Linked DNA regions of Homo sapiens: region 2 is linked to region 1. The links are contacts of gene promoters, found by promoter capture Hi-C in human tissues and cell types (Jung and others, 2019). All regions are on one chromosome and are shown on one strand. Each heading gives the region's core, a stretch centred on a gene start or on the middle of the fragment in contact. The rest is flanking DNA. Distances are from core to core; before and after follow the strand shown. Region 1 holds the start of NOL4 (nucleolar protein 4). Region 2 overlaps LOC124904280 (a long non-coding RNA gene).

What was found. The method cuts DNA at HindIII sites, captures the fragments that hold promoters and counts their contacts. A contact is called where the count stands out against the background at its distance.
Region 2: a contact is called between a fragment that was not itself captured here and the fragment with the promoter of NOL4 in region 1, in 1 of the 25 tissues and cell types used here (mesendoderm cells).

Annotation. Positions count from the first base shown.
Region 1 is chr18:34,223,204-34,230,850 of GRCh38, forward strand. It overlaps NOL4 (nucleolar protein 4), which reads right to left and starts at 1,710. Exons shown (of 11, transcript NM_003787.5): 1 at 1-1,710. The coding sequence starts at 50. The HindIII fragment of the contact is 4,883 bases long and covers 1-3,606 here.
Region 2 is chr18:34,266,732-34,274,378 of GRCh38, forward strand. LOC124904280 (a long non-coding RNA gene) reads right to left here. Exons shown (of 2, transcript XR_007066331.1): 2 at 2,697-3,133. Among named protein-coding and RNA genes, the nearest start is that of NOL4, 46 kb to the left of the region's middle. The HindIII fragment of the contact is 3,178 bases long and covers 979-4,156 here.

The DNA of each region.
Region 1 (7,647 bases), core at 460-2,959:
CTGAGGCACCAGTCCTGGAACTGGCGGTACATGTCGCGCTCGCTCTCCATGTTCCCCGCGCTCGGCCGCTGGCCGGATGCTCCCAGCGCACTTCGCACCTGTTCACCCTAGGCTCATGAAAAATGCAGCCCCGGCCACGTTGCAGGGATGCGAGGTCCCGGCCGCAGCGGGAGCCTGCTTTGGGTGGGGGAAGGGATGGGAAGAGGGGAGGAGGGTCCGGTTGGGCACCAGCAATCAATGCCCCGTGCTACCAAGTCTGGTCCATTCGTAATTGCAACGGCTGTCTCGGACGTTTTTCCTGTTCCCTTAGCGGTCGGTCTCTTTAATATTTTGTGACCAGGACCATCCCAACACCATTCTGGCCCAGAGGAGCTGGGTTTTCAATAATTAAAATCCCATTCCTTGGTTTATTAAAAATCCCAATATTGAATTGGGGTGGTCCCTAGACGCCTCGCCCCCGGGCTGCGTCCGGGGCTGGGCAGGTGGAGCGCAGCGCCGCCTCCCCGCGCGCGCCCCAGAAGCTTCCCCAGCCACTGGCCCCGTGGTCCAGGAGTGAGGGCTGCGCCTCTCCCGAAAGCAGCCGCCCGCCCAGCGCCTTTGAGCCCCGAAGGGCACACGGGTCCCGGATCTCTCCTTCCTCCTGGGTCCTGCTTTGACCTTCCCCACGACGGGTGTTAAGGGACTAGAAAGAGAAAGTTCTTACCTGTCATGTTTTTAAACCTATCAAATTCTGTTTTACAGAATTTTTTATCAAGATATTTTTTAAAACGGTTTAAAATGTCATTTCTTCAGATGCATTTTGAATAAATTCCAGCCCTGTATGTAGATTCTACGAGTTAAGTCCCAGAAATTAGCAAAGCATTGATGGAGATTTGGCCATAGTTCTACAGGATAGATTGTAGTGCCCCAAACAGATATCCGTTCCAGGGGGATGTGGGTAACCGAAGGCAGGCCGCTGGCGGCGGGTATCCCGAATAATGATGGGACCCCCAGACAGGACTCCTCTGGTTTCTGCTGAACAAGACATAGAAGTAAGTTTAGGATACAGATGCTTGAAAACCTTTGCACGAAATTAAAATATATACAGAAAGATCATTTTCCCCTTGCTTGGTCACAGTTTGCAGTTCACACGGGAGGTTTCAGTTGTCTATTTTCCCCCTGCCACGTCATGGACACCCCCTCCACTGCTCTGAGTAGCCAAATATGAGTTCCTCTGGACTATTTTTCCAAGCAGATGAAGTCAGCAGTTGCTCCATTCAGGACTTCCATCCATTTGTTTCCAGAGCTGGAAATAGGGGAGTTCCCATCCTCCTCGCGCGGCGGCTGCGGCCGCTCCTCTTTATTCTACTCTCACCCGAGGCCCGCGCCCGTCCCGGGGAGCGGCTCTGCCAGGAAAACGGCCCGACCAGTGCCCGGCGCCTGGGCTGCGTCCGAGCCCACCTTCTTCCCTCGTCGTCGTCTCCCAGACTAAATCCCGGAAAGGGAAAGCGGGATGTTTGCGCCCACCGCGCTGTAGCTGGTCCTGACACTTGCAAAATGGTCAGTGGCTCCTGCTCGGCCAGGCTGAGTGTGTGCGTGTGTGTGAGCAAGGGAGCGAGGGTGTGCGGTGTGCAGGGGGTGCGCTGTGTGTGCGCGCGTCTCCGGGAAGGTCTCGCGGCGGCTGGAGCCGGGACTGACAGCCCGGGCGGAGCGCAGGCAGCTCCACACGCTAAACCTCTCGCCTCTCCCCTCACCCCCACCCCTCCCACTCCCCTCTCCTTCCCCCACCCTCCCCGGCCCCTTCCAAGCTCTCTGATTGGCCAATGGGACAAAAGTTTCTGTGGAGACGGCTGGGCGCTGACGTCACGGGCAGAATTGTCCCATTTAGGGATCCCGGGGGCAGTGCGCATGCTGCAGGCTGCAGGTTAGAGGCAGAAGGAGGTAGCAGCGGGCCCGGCGGCAGCCAGGTGGCAGAAAGGAGCACGCAGCATCCAGGTGGGGGGACGACTCCAGCAGGGTTTCCATGGAGATTCCTCTGGGTCTAGCCTAAAAACAGCAGATCAGCTGACACCATTAGCTCAGGACCTAATTACTGCTTATTGGAGCAACAAATGAGGGAAAGGGCCAGCTGCAAAGGAAGAGTTTTTATCCCCCCACCCCATTCCCCCATCTCCTTTCTCCCCCTCTCTCCATCCCTCTTGAGTCCCGGGTGAATTCTCATTAACTTGCAAGATTCCTGCAACAACAGCTCCCCTTCTCCAGAGGCCACCCCGACTGCTTTTATTCTTTTATTTCCTTCTTTTGTATTAAAAAGAAATGCTAAAATAAATCAGTTGTTGAGTCCTTGAATTTTTGTTCAATACGTATTAGACCATAGAGCTCAGAGAAGACACTGTCCAATGAAGTCACAAGTGAATCTAATACAAGGGACTCAGGGGAAAAATATCACTTTCAATTTATTGAGGTGAATCTTTAGATATTTCACATTAAAAAAATCTTAATATCTTAAATACATAAATATTTGAAACACGCAATTGGACAGAAGATATCCTGAACCACCCTTCTAGTGGGGTATACTTCACAGGAGCAACTCTGTTAAGTTTCCCTTTGTGGCATCAGAGCTCAATTTAGTTAGATATTGGTCATGTGTTTCCTGGAAGTTTCTGGAAAGATAATTGGTCCTGGGGTAGTCATTCAAGAATAAGCTGGTTCTATAGAATTCACTTTCTCATATGGTTATAGTTCACAATTATAGAACTATTTTATGCAGCTTTTCATCTAAAAAGGCATCCCATCCCCTCTAAGCTTTATTTATGTACTTTCAGCCTCCAAAAACCTTCCTTAATCATTCAACTTAATATTAACTTTCTTCTATAATCATCTGTATTGTGTCTTTCAAACATTTTTTAGCCCTGTCTTGTAGTAAGCCATACACTTTACATTGACATGTAGTGCATACATACATTTGTTCTGCAAAAATTTTATGAAAACATCTATTTTATTACCTGCAATATACACTGATATTTGCCTTTTTCTCTCCTGTTGATTTTGTTATTATTATTTGGTAAAGTATAGTCCCAACCAAAAAAATTTATTTTATGACCCAGCAAAGAATGACTGGCAACCTACAATTTGAAAAATATTGTTTTAGATCATAATGACTACACTGCTCCTTTTACCTTATTTATATTTTCATATGAGTATGTTTTGTTGGTCAAATAAAATCTTAATTGGAAAACCCTTGAAAGTTTATGTCTTTTTTCTTGTTTTGTGCAATGAACAATGTGCACAGTAAGTGCTTAATAAATTGAGTTAATAAATTAATGAAAGAAGGAGAACAAGAGTAAGGGAAGGAAGGAAGAAGGTAGGCATAATCTTTGTCCATTCTTGTTGGCTTTTGCTGGGTAGTGTTTGGTTGAAGTTGGTCCCCCGTCTTAAGGAAATGACAGGGCTTTACCACACACACATGTGTTCATTGTATTTATAACTATACTTGACACCCTAATGCATAGCAACTAGAACACCCTAGACATACAGAACTCCCAGAAGATAAATATGTCATCAACCCCCACTTGTATTCACTAGATTTGATATACAAGCACAAAAACCCCACAAAATGAAATAGATTATATGAAATACATTCTTTTTAAGAAGAAAAGGTAAATGATTAACTACTGAAAGACTGTTTGCATTGGAGGAAAGGAATACAGGGTTCAAAGATTTCAAGGGTCCTAAGTCTCAGAGCCCTGCAGATTCTCTTGTTTTCAGTGGAACCCAAAGTGTAATATGCTCTGTACTTGCACCCATTATTAGTTGTGCTGGCTGAGCCAACACCTTCAACCATATCTTGTCCACCTAGGAAGGTAGGCACCTAACAAAAATCTAAAATCTGCTTCAGCAACTTACTCTGGACTAATTTTCCTTCTTTGAACTTCTCTAGAGTCAGGTCTGACCAGCCCCATCTCAGGGTCATCCTGAGCTGCTTCCTCAGCTATATGGTTCATGTGAACAGGCTGCCTGGGATTTAACCTGGTATGTTCCCAGGACACTTTCCTCAGAATTGCCTGGCTACAAAGCATATCTCTCCGAAATGTTTTTCTTCACCCCTTCTGAATGCCAATCCCCAATCTGGGCCCAGGGGTCCTGTCTGCCTGGCAGGCAGAGGAAGAAAAGAGAGGAAGAGGAAGGCAAAAAGGTATGTGAAACTTATATTTTAATTTAAAATAATCCAAAACGTGGGCTATCATCAATATGATTTTTGTTATAGAAGTAAAATTTCTTCCAACTTCATGGTCAGTTTGTAAATGACATTTTAAAAATCCAGAAAATCTTGCACTTTATTATCAATCACAAATATTTACACAACACTATGTGTTCATCAGCAAAATGTTAGAGTACAAACAACATAGAATCTGTAATCAGAAAATCCATGTTCAAAGAATAAACAAGCTTTCATTCCTTCAAATAATTGTGGTTTTTATTAAACAAATATTAACCAAGCTTCAGTTACTCTCACAGGTTCTAGGGTTAACGTCCTCAGCAAGACAGATGTATATGCATGGTTCCCATCTCATGGAACATAAATTCTTCTAAGGACAGCAGACAACAAAGCAAGAAATAAATAATTAGAGCTTTATGTAAGTGCTGGGAGGGGGAAAAATAGCAGCATAAGAGAAAACAGTGACAAGGTAGAGAGACTTGATGAGCTTAGGGAAGATCTTTCTGAGTAGGTAACATTTATCATGAGACCTGAAGATTCAAAGGAGTCAATTATGTGAAGCCAGGAAGGTGAACTATAGGCAAAGCGCAAAGGTCCTAACGTAAAAGAACTCTTGGCATGTTTGAGGAATAGAAAGAAGGCCAAGGCAACTGGAGCTTGAAAGAGAAAGGTAGAACGTGAGATCTGAGTAGACTTCTGCAGCCAGATCTTGTAGGGCATTGCTTACATTTTATTGATAAGTGCTTATATTTTATTGGTCCAGTGGAAAACCAGTAAGATATCTCAGGCAGGAGAATTATATGATATGATATGCATTTTTATTAGTGTCACTGGCCACTTTGAGGAGAAAGGATTGGAAAGGGACAAGCATGAAAGCAGGAAGACCAGCTAGAAAAAATGGTGATAGTTGAAGTAGTAGCTTAGATGAACTATTACGGCGATAGATTAGAGTATTAACAGAGGAGGTAGAGGGAGAGAAGTGATGGGTTGAAGATACAGTTTAAAGAAAGAATAGAGCTTCCTGAATGTGTATCTCCTCCACCCCCCTGCCCCCACCCCACAATCCATATGTTGAAATCCTAACCCCCAAGGTGATGGTATTAGGAAGTGGCACCTTTGGGAGCTGATTAGGTAATGAAAGGAGAGCTGGTCATGAATGGAATTGGTGCCTTCATGAAAGAGGCCTCACAGAGCTCCTCTGCCACTTCCTCCATGTGAGGACGCTGAAAAGATGGCCATCTATGAAGAGGAGTCTCACTAGACATCACATCTGCCAGCATCTTAATCTTGGACTTTCCAGCCTCCAGACCTGTGAGAAATAAATTCCTGTTGTTTATAAGCCACCCAGCCTATGGTAGTTTGTTATAGCAGCCCTAGTGAACTAATACACTGATGGACTGCATGTATCAGATGAGAGAAACGATTGAATCAAAGACGACTACATGGTTTCTGGCTTTAGTAGTGAGGCTAGTGAAGCCATTGACTTACAGAGAAATGTTTGGGGGAGGAACAGATTGGGAGTTGGAGGCTGAGGGAGGAGCAGAAGCAAGTTGGGGTGGAGAGGCAGGAAGAAAGAATTTAATTTCAGAGAAGTTAAATTTGAAATACCAGGAGAGTTGTTCATGTAGGAATTGAATATAGAAGCTTGAACTACAGAGAAAAGTCTGGATTGGAGATATAAATACAGGGAATTTAAAGCCATAGGAATGAATGACATCACCTTTGTCCACATTTCCTACAAAAAGGGAAAGCCCCCATCTTTTGATATTGAGTTTGTATATACTAATACCTTATGACTAAAATAGAATGTCATGTACTGAGCAGCAGAAGTTGGCTTCTATTGATATAATACTGGTATTGGGAAAAACCTGAGAAAAATAGCAAAGCAGTTTGGATGAATCCTTGACTAGACCTAAACTGTTAGTAATTTCCAAATTTACATGGACTTAAAATCATTTAAAACTTAAAAGTGAAGCTGTGAAAGCTTTGGTTAGACCTATTCTGGATTAGATCAGGACCTGGAGGCACGCTAAAATAGGAATCAAATTTTAGGATGTCCTATGATCACATTTCCCATTGAAGGGGTTGACTAGAGACTTGTCTACTGAGTTAAGTTCATAAAAGAATTTGAGCCTTTTAGCTAGATTAGAGATTATGGAGCATGGTACTTGCTACTTTGAAAGCTGAGGTTCTGAACGTTATTATGCATTCAGAGGGTTAAAAGTCTATTAATAATCCCGTCAAGGAAAAGAAAGTTGTAAAGGAAGCAAATGACCAACTCAATCAGCAACTTGATTATGACATAATTTATTAACTTTTCAAAATGACACAAAATAAACAAAGCAGAAATGCCCTGTTTATGCAGGTAGAGAAATTTGGAACTTTGTAGAAATTGTCACAAATCTGATTTTATTAGTTGACTTCCAATGTATTGACTCTTCTACCAAATAATTTTGAAAAGAGCCTGTCTTTAGTATGCAATAGCTATCCTTTAATTAAGAAAAGAAACACTTTTGAGAGAGTTTAAATATTTTTCTGATCTTTATGGCGGTGATTACTAAGACACAGAAAAACACATATTTTAATTTGTGAACTGTAATATCAGTATCTTTATTCCACTTTCTAACCCAAAAGAAAAGATTAAAAATTTGATGTTTTTTGTTTTGCCCAAATTTACTGATATTTACGTTTTGTAAGAATTTCATTACATATTATGCGTTAACCAAAATTTAATTTCCATAAATACTTAAGTGTGCAAATTAAGAACACATTAGATTTGATAGTCTAGTTGATTTTCTAAATTTCTCTTTAATTTCTACTTTTAACATGATCCTATGAGCAAGTCCATGGTACAGCCAGTTCCTGCATTTTGACAGTGGCATATGGATTTATTCAACATTCATCCATCCGACATTTTCATCTAGCTGCAATAGCTATGATAAAGTCCAAAGTTAACAGTCTGGTGTTCGTGTCCCTTGTAACAGAGAAGAAAATACATTTTTTTCTGGACCCAAATATTGCTTTATTTCCCACTAGCCATATGGCTTATCTTTTCTTCCAAAATATGTCTTAAAACAGTAATCCACATATTCGTCCTCAACTCAGTGGACAGTACTATTATAGAATTTTTAGATTATTTTTAGAAGTTATTTTGTCATAGAAAATAAAAACTATTTGGGGATGAAGGAGCAACACACCTATGCTCAATTCCCACTATATTTTCGATACTTCCAGTTTTTATTCTGATTTCTGCTGAGTGAACCAATTCATATCTTACCATCATCATCTAGCCCTTATATCTTATTTAAAGTGCATGATTAATCATTTTAGGACATTTGTTTAACTTGCAGTATAAAAGTGACAAGAATGGCACACAAAGATTTCTTGGCTAAAACCACAGACTCCAGAAATAGTTTTTACAGGGGAACCATCTGAGCTTAAACACCAGA
Region 2 (7,647 bases), core at 1,318-3,817, 44 kb after region 1:
GTACCCTGCAAAGCCACAGGGGCAGAGCTGCCCAAGACCATGGAAACCCACTTTTTGCATCAGCATGACCTAGATGTGAGACCTGGAGTCAAAGGAGAATATTTTTGAGCTTTAAAATTTGACTACCCAGCTAGCTGGATTTTGGATTTGCATGGGCCCTGTAACCCCTTTGTTTTGGACAATTTCTCCCATTTGGAACAGCTGTATTTACCTAATACCTGTACCAACATTGTATCTAGGAAGTAACTAGCTTGTTTTTGATTTTATAGGCTCATAAGTGGAAGGGACTTGCCTTGTCTCAGATGAGACTTTGGACTGTGGACTTTTGAGTTAATGCTGAAATGAGTTAAGACTTTGGGGGACTGTTGGGAAGGCATGATTGATTTTGAACTGTTGAGGACATGAGATTTGGAGGGGCCAGTGGCAGAATGATATGGTTTGGCTGTGCCCCCACCCAAATCTCATCTTTAATTGTACTCTCATAATTCCCATGTGTTGTGGGAGGGGCCCAGTGGGAAATAATTTGAATCATGGGGGCAGTTTCCCCCATACTGTTCTTGTGGTAGTGAATAAGTCTCACGAGATCTGGTGGGTTTATCAGGGGTTTTCACTTTTGCATCTTCCTTATTCTGTCTTGCTGCCACCATGTAAGAAGTGCCTTTTACCTTCCGCGATGATTGTGAGATCTTCCCCAGCCACATGAGTCAAATTAAACCTCTTCCTTTTGTAAATTGCTGAGTCTCTGGTATGTCTTTATCAGCAGTATGAAACGGACTAATATAATAATCATAAAAGCCAAGTCCCAACAATAAATCTCTGTGTGTGTACATGTATATGTATACATATATATACATCTATTTATAGATACACATAGAGATATATCTGTATAGATATGTATCTATCTATCTACACATCCTCTTCATTATGTTTCTCTGGAAAACTCTGACTAATGCAAACATCATCATATATTTAAAATTACCATATAGATTAAGCATCCCTAATCTAAAATCTGAAATCTGAAGTGCTCCAAAATCCAAAACTCCTTGAATACTGACATGACACCAAAAGTGGAAAATTTTACACCTGACTTTATGTGATGAGTCACAAAATATAGATGCACAACACAGTTTGTTTAGTGCCTCCAAGGGATAAAAGACCGTCTCAGCTTCCTTTAGCTGTGAGATTCCCCCAGGGAACACATGCACAAACGGTAACAAAACAGCATGTTTGCAGGCTGGTCATACCAACAGCAGGTTCCCCAATGCCCCACATAGGACCAAGACCTAATGTATTACTCACTGTTTTGTGTGTGTTGTGTTGTTTTTTGTTTTGTGTTGTGTTGTGTTTTGTGTTGTTTTGTTTTGTTGTTTATTCTCTATTCTGTAGTATAAGAGTATTGTTGAGATGTTAAAAAGGCCTGCAGATACTACTGTGATAACAAAAAGAGGCGGCATTTATGTTTATCTATAGCACAGAAAGTCAAGCTGTTGGAGAATCTGGACAGTGGCATAAGTGTGAAACATCTCAGAAGAGTATGGTGTTGGAATGACCACCATGTGTGACATGAAGAAACAGAAGAATAAACTGCTAAAGTTCTATGCTGAAATTGATGAAGAGAAGTTAATGAAAAAACAATTTTTTAAACCACATAAACCTAAAAATGAAGATCTCAATTGTGTATTCAAAGAGTGGATCCATCAGCATCACAGTTAATACATGTACCTTAATCGTATGCTAGACATGAAGCAACAAAAATCTATCACCATGAACTGAAGACTGAAGGGAATTGTAAATATCCAACAGGCTGCATGAAGAAATTTTAAAAAAGACATAACATTAATTTTTTCAAAGATTTTTGGTGACAGAGCATCTGCTGATCATGAAACTGTGGAGAAATTCATTGATGAGTTAGCTAAGGTCATTGCTGATGAAAATAAAACACCAGAACAAATCGATAATTCTGATGAAATATGACTATTTTGGCATTGTTGCCCTAGAAAGACATTGAGTAGAGCTGATGAGACAGCTCCTACAAGAATGAAGGATGTCGAGGACAGAATAACCATGCTGGGATGTGCTAATATGGCAGACACACTTAAGTGAAAATTTGCTGTGATAGACATAACCTTGCATCCTCACTGCTTTCAAGAAATGAATTTCTTGCCAGTCCATTATTATGCTAAGAAAAATGTATGGATCACTAGGGAAATCTTTTATGATGGGTTTCACAAACGTTGTGTACCAGTGGCTCATGCTAACTGCAGGGAATCTGGACTGGATGATTACTGCAAGATATTGTTACTCCTTGAAAACTGTTCTGTTCATCCTTCAGCTGAAATTCTCATCACAAATGATGGTTATGTTGTGCTCTTCCACAAAATGTAACTTTATTAATTCAGTGATGTAACCAGAATATCCTTAGATCAATGAAGAGTAAATGTAAAAACATTTTCATGAACAGCATGCCTAGCAGCAGTGAACAGAGGCATGGGCGTAGGTTTCCAAAAGGAGTTTAGGATGAAGGATGCTATATATATATTGTTGCCAATGCTTGGAACACAGTGACTAGAGACACAGTTCTGGATGCCTGACACAACCTCTGGCCTGCAACTATGTTCAGTTATCATGATGAACAAGGTGGTGACTTTGAAGGATATTGTATGTCATATGAGAAAAAATGATGCCTGAAATCCTTATATTTTCAAAAATATGACTTTAATCAGTGAGCTAGAAAAAGTAGATATTGAAGTTTTTAACATCAGTAATGAGGCTTCAGTTGTTCATTCCTTGACTGATGGTGAGATAGCCAAAATAATTCTGAACCAAGGTGATTTTGATCAATAGTGACAATGAAGCTGGCATTGTTAACACTGTAGAAAAAAGTGCCTATAGATGACATGGTGAAAATATATAATGGGCTTATTGAAGGACTAGAACAGCATGCATTCATAACAAGAAATTGTGTCAGCTTATACAATCAACAAATCAAAGAGAGACTTCTAAGGCGACAACTGTTGTTAATGAGGCACATGACTCTAGGAAACATTTTTTAACAGCCATCCAGAAGAATGCCTTTTCATCAGTAGAGAACCCACTTCTCAGTCTCTCAACTGCTTCTGATGTTTCTTCTCACCTGAGAAAATAAAATAGAGTGTATAGTAACCTTTTAGCCAAAACACAGCATTGTAAGTGGAGACAGAAAGCCTGGCATTGTTCATTGTTGTTGTTGTTTAGCAGCTGAAACAGGTATTTTAGTAATGCCATTGGGCTGCTTAGTTACCCTGGACACATTATTTTTTCACTGTATTAATTGTATGTCATACATTTAATTGTTAAGTACTTATGTGAGAATAAGTGTGAGAAAATTATTGCTTATAGCATACAAATCGAGTCAGGAGAGGCAGTGTTGCCAACCAACCACAGATTGTCAACATGCGTGGCTGAGATAGTGACACCTTTGCTTCCTGATGGTTCTATGTACAAAAGCTTTATTTAATGCACAATATTATATAAAATATTGTATAAAATTACCTTCAGGGTATGTGTATAATAAAAGGTGTAATGAAAGATAAATGAAACTTGTGTTTAGACTTGGGTCCTACCCCTAAGTTGTCTCATTATGTATATGCAAATATTCTAAAATCTGGAAAAAAAATTCTCAACTCTGAAACACGTCTGATCCGAAGCATTTTGGATAAGAAATACTCAATCTGTAATTCTACAATATTATTTAAGAGCCAGTCCATTCTCAAATTTTCTCAATTTTCTCCAAAATATACTTTTAGCCTTTTTTTTAGAACTTTGACTCAATCAAAATTCACACTGCCCACTTCTCTTTTTCTTGTGCATTTGACATTTTGAAGAGACTCAGGCAGTGTAATTGTACAAGGTTCCACAGTCTAGATGTGTTCTTTCCCTCATGGTGTCATTTTTCTAACCCTGTGTATGTCCTACAACACAGGAAGTTAAAGAGAGAGGCTTGATCTTATCCAGGTGTAGCACACTGGGCAAGAATAAGTTTCACGCCCTGCCCCATTTCATCAGGAAACATGATGTCAAGCAGTCCACTGTTAGAGAGACTGCTTTTCATCCCATGGTCAAGATGGTGACTGCCAAATCTTTACAATTTAAAGGTGAATATTTTCCCCCTTTATGCAAGTAGCAAGTGATTTTGTTGTGATGCTTTGCTTTTAGTAAATATCCTGTTTCTCCAAAACATTTTCTTTAATGACTTTAGCCTCTAAGTCCTTTTCTGAACTATTTTACTCAGTGTTAAAAAATAATCATTTTCTAATTCCCTCATTCCCTCTCTTCTCTAAACCGGCATTAGTAAACTTCTGGTATTTGTTTGTTTGATTGTTTTTAAAGAGCTTTATCTCATACCATCGTCTGAAATGTACTTCCTGCAAGCGTGATAACAAACGATTAACTTTTCCGCTAATTACTAATTTTAAAAATAAAGAGTTAGTATAATAATCTCCTCATTGCAGCAGGTATCTTACTGTCTGACACCATGGTGGTGTCATAGATTTTTATGTATTTAATGGTTATAGTCAGTTCTGTTCATTATCCTTTTTGATGCTCAAATTATTCCAAAACTGGTTCTCGGTTTGTGTGCATGTCTCCATTCATACAGAGTTTGCTTGTTTTCTGGCATAACAGGATGTATCAGGTTCACTGTGTACTCTCCATGAGCCAGTCCTACAGCAGCCATTTCTCAAAAATAGTATTTAGAAACCACAATCTGGACATTAGGTGTGCTCATTAGATAAAATATTTTTAAAATAATTTTTAAATTCATGGTTGAGTTGGCAGGAAAATAGAAGCTTTTGGAGGCATCTAAAGAGGTAAGAAAACACTTATGGTGGTGTAGCATTTTGGCCTTTAATGAGCCACAGACATGGAGAACAATCAAAATTACTGTTTATGGAGCACTCAAAAAAGAAAGATAAAAACAGAAACCACCACACAGAACCTGAGATCCTGAAAGGCAATGCACTGTGTGGTTGAATTAGGAAGATTAAAAAAAGAAAAAGAAAGAAAAAAGCAGAAGGACATGGTAGAATATTTGCCTAGTTTGGCCATGAATCTATGTAGAACTAGAAAGAAAAAGAAAATTTTCCCCTGAAATTTTCCAAACATGAGTGTGCCTTTACTTGAGATTGAGAAATAAATTAAGTAGTACTACCTTTCTGGCCAACAAATTCTGTAAGTCAAACACTAAGTAATCCTACCGCACACTCAACTATAGAAAACAGAAAAATTCTTCTCTGAAGAAATGGGTTTTATATCTCAACTTCATAACATTTTCACATTAGCAAAATAACTACCATCAGAGAAAGATAGAAAAACTGAATTAGCAGGAGGAAATATTTTAAAACCTACAGAATACTACCCCAAAGATACAAATATTGGTATTATCAAGTCAGGAATATTAAAACAAAAGGCTTAAAGAAAAAAAAATACAGGTAAATATGTAATACAGAACAAGAGATTATCAAAAATAACCAGAGAGATGTTTCAAAATTTCTAAATAGAATTTTTACAATCATTAAAATGAGTAGCTCAATAGATGGGTTAAAAAGCAAACTCTAGGGGCCGGGCATGTGGCTCAGCCTGTAATCGCAGCACTGTGGGAGGCCAAGGCGGGCAGATACTTGAGGTCAGGAATTTGAGACCAGCCTGGCCAACATGGCAAAACCTTGTCTCTACTAAAAATATAAAAATTAGCTGGGCATGGTGGCGGAAATCCCAGCTACTTGGGAGGCTGAGGCAGGAGAATCGCTTGAACCCAGGAGGAAGAGGCTGCAGTGAGCTGAGATCGCGCCACTGCACCCCAGCCTGGGCAACAGAGTGAAACTCTGTCTCAAAAACAAGAACAAAAACAAAAAGCAAACTCTTGGCCACTGGGTAAAGAGAGAATTTATGTAAGAGAATATTGAGCTTAAAAAGTCACCCAAAATGTAGCCCAAAGTCGTAAAGAAATGAAAATATGAAATAGAAGTTAAGAGATATTGAGGATAAAGTTAAAAAGTCACTATATGTCTATTCATAGTTCCTGAGAGGGGAATAGGGAGAATGGATAAAAGGCAATATTCAAAATGATAATGGCTGAGAATTTTCCAGAAATGATAAAGACACCAATTCTGAGGCTCAGAAAGTCCAATAGATTTTCAGCAGGATTACTAAAGAGAAACATACGCGTAGATGTACTATAGGAACTACAGTGGCACTGAAGATCAATAAAGAGAAAGTGAAGACTTTAAAAGCAGTCTGAGAGAAAAGACATTTTTTATGAAGGAACAACAAAACAGCTGAATTCTCAAAAGCAAAAATAGAAGCCAGAAGACAGCTGAATGTATATCTTCAAAGAAGAGAAAATAGATGCCAACCAGAATGTTATGTCTTCCCAAAACTATCATTCAGGAATGAGAGGGATATACAGACGTTTTTAGCAAACAACAACGAAAATGAAGATGAAATAGAGATTACATCGCCACAAAAACAAACACAAAATCTTATAAGAGAACAGTGAGTGAATATACTTTAGAAATACAAGAGATGGTTTCAGAAGGAAGGCCCGAGATGCAAGAGGACACAGCTATCAAAGGTGCCAAATTTAAATAAAAAATTGCCCTCAAGGTTCAAGGAAAAATTAAAATTAAATTCTAGATAAAAAAACTGCATCACAATTAGGCTACATTATTTGAATTAAAGTATCAGAAAAGCTGTGTATATTGATAAAAGGCCCAATTCACTAGTAATATGTAAAATTCTAAACTTCATCCAATAATGTATCTTTTGAATATCTAAAGCAAAAGGACAAAACTATATGGCAAAATTGACAAATTCACTATTATAGCAGATTTTAATATAACTTCCTCTGTAATTGATATAGATAAATCAGACCAAAAAATTTGAGGATGTATAAGATTCAAATATCACAATTCACAAGCATGTTCTATAGAAAAAATACACTCCCAAAATTGAAAGTATATGTACTTTTCAAGTACTCAGAGCAAAATTTACTCATTTAATGAACCATAAAACTAGCATCTGTAAATTCTAAAACCTCATTACCATAACAGCTAGATATATCTTTTCTGACTACATTTAAGCTAGAAATCAATTATGAAAACTAACTTTAATCACTCACACATTTGAAAATTTTAAAATATGCTATTAAATAATTCAGATCATAAAAGAAATCTTAAAAAAATAGAAAATACATTGAAACAGTGATCATAAAATTACTATGTACCAAAAAGTATGAAATGCAATAAAGCATTACTTAGAGAAATGCTAATGGATTTAACATTCTTATACTTGAAGAAAAGCTGGAACTTAACGAGGTAATATTCCAATTTAAGAGTGTAGAAAAAAGAAAAACAGAATAAATCCAGAGTAAAGCTAAAGACACAAGAAATGAGGAAATAAAGACAGCTCTGAAGTTAATGGAAAACAAAAATAGTAATACTTTCTTCTGAATAGTAGTTCTTGGAAAAGGCCAATAATCTGACTGTCCTCTGGTAAAACTAATCAAGAAAAAGAGCACGTGCTATAAATGTGAAATATGTAAGAAATTTTTGTTTTTTTGTTATTCTAACAAATATGTTTTACTATACTTAGTTTCCTGTATAATCTTGT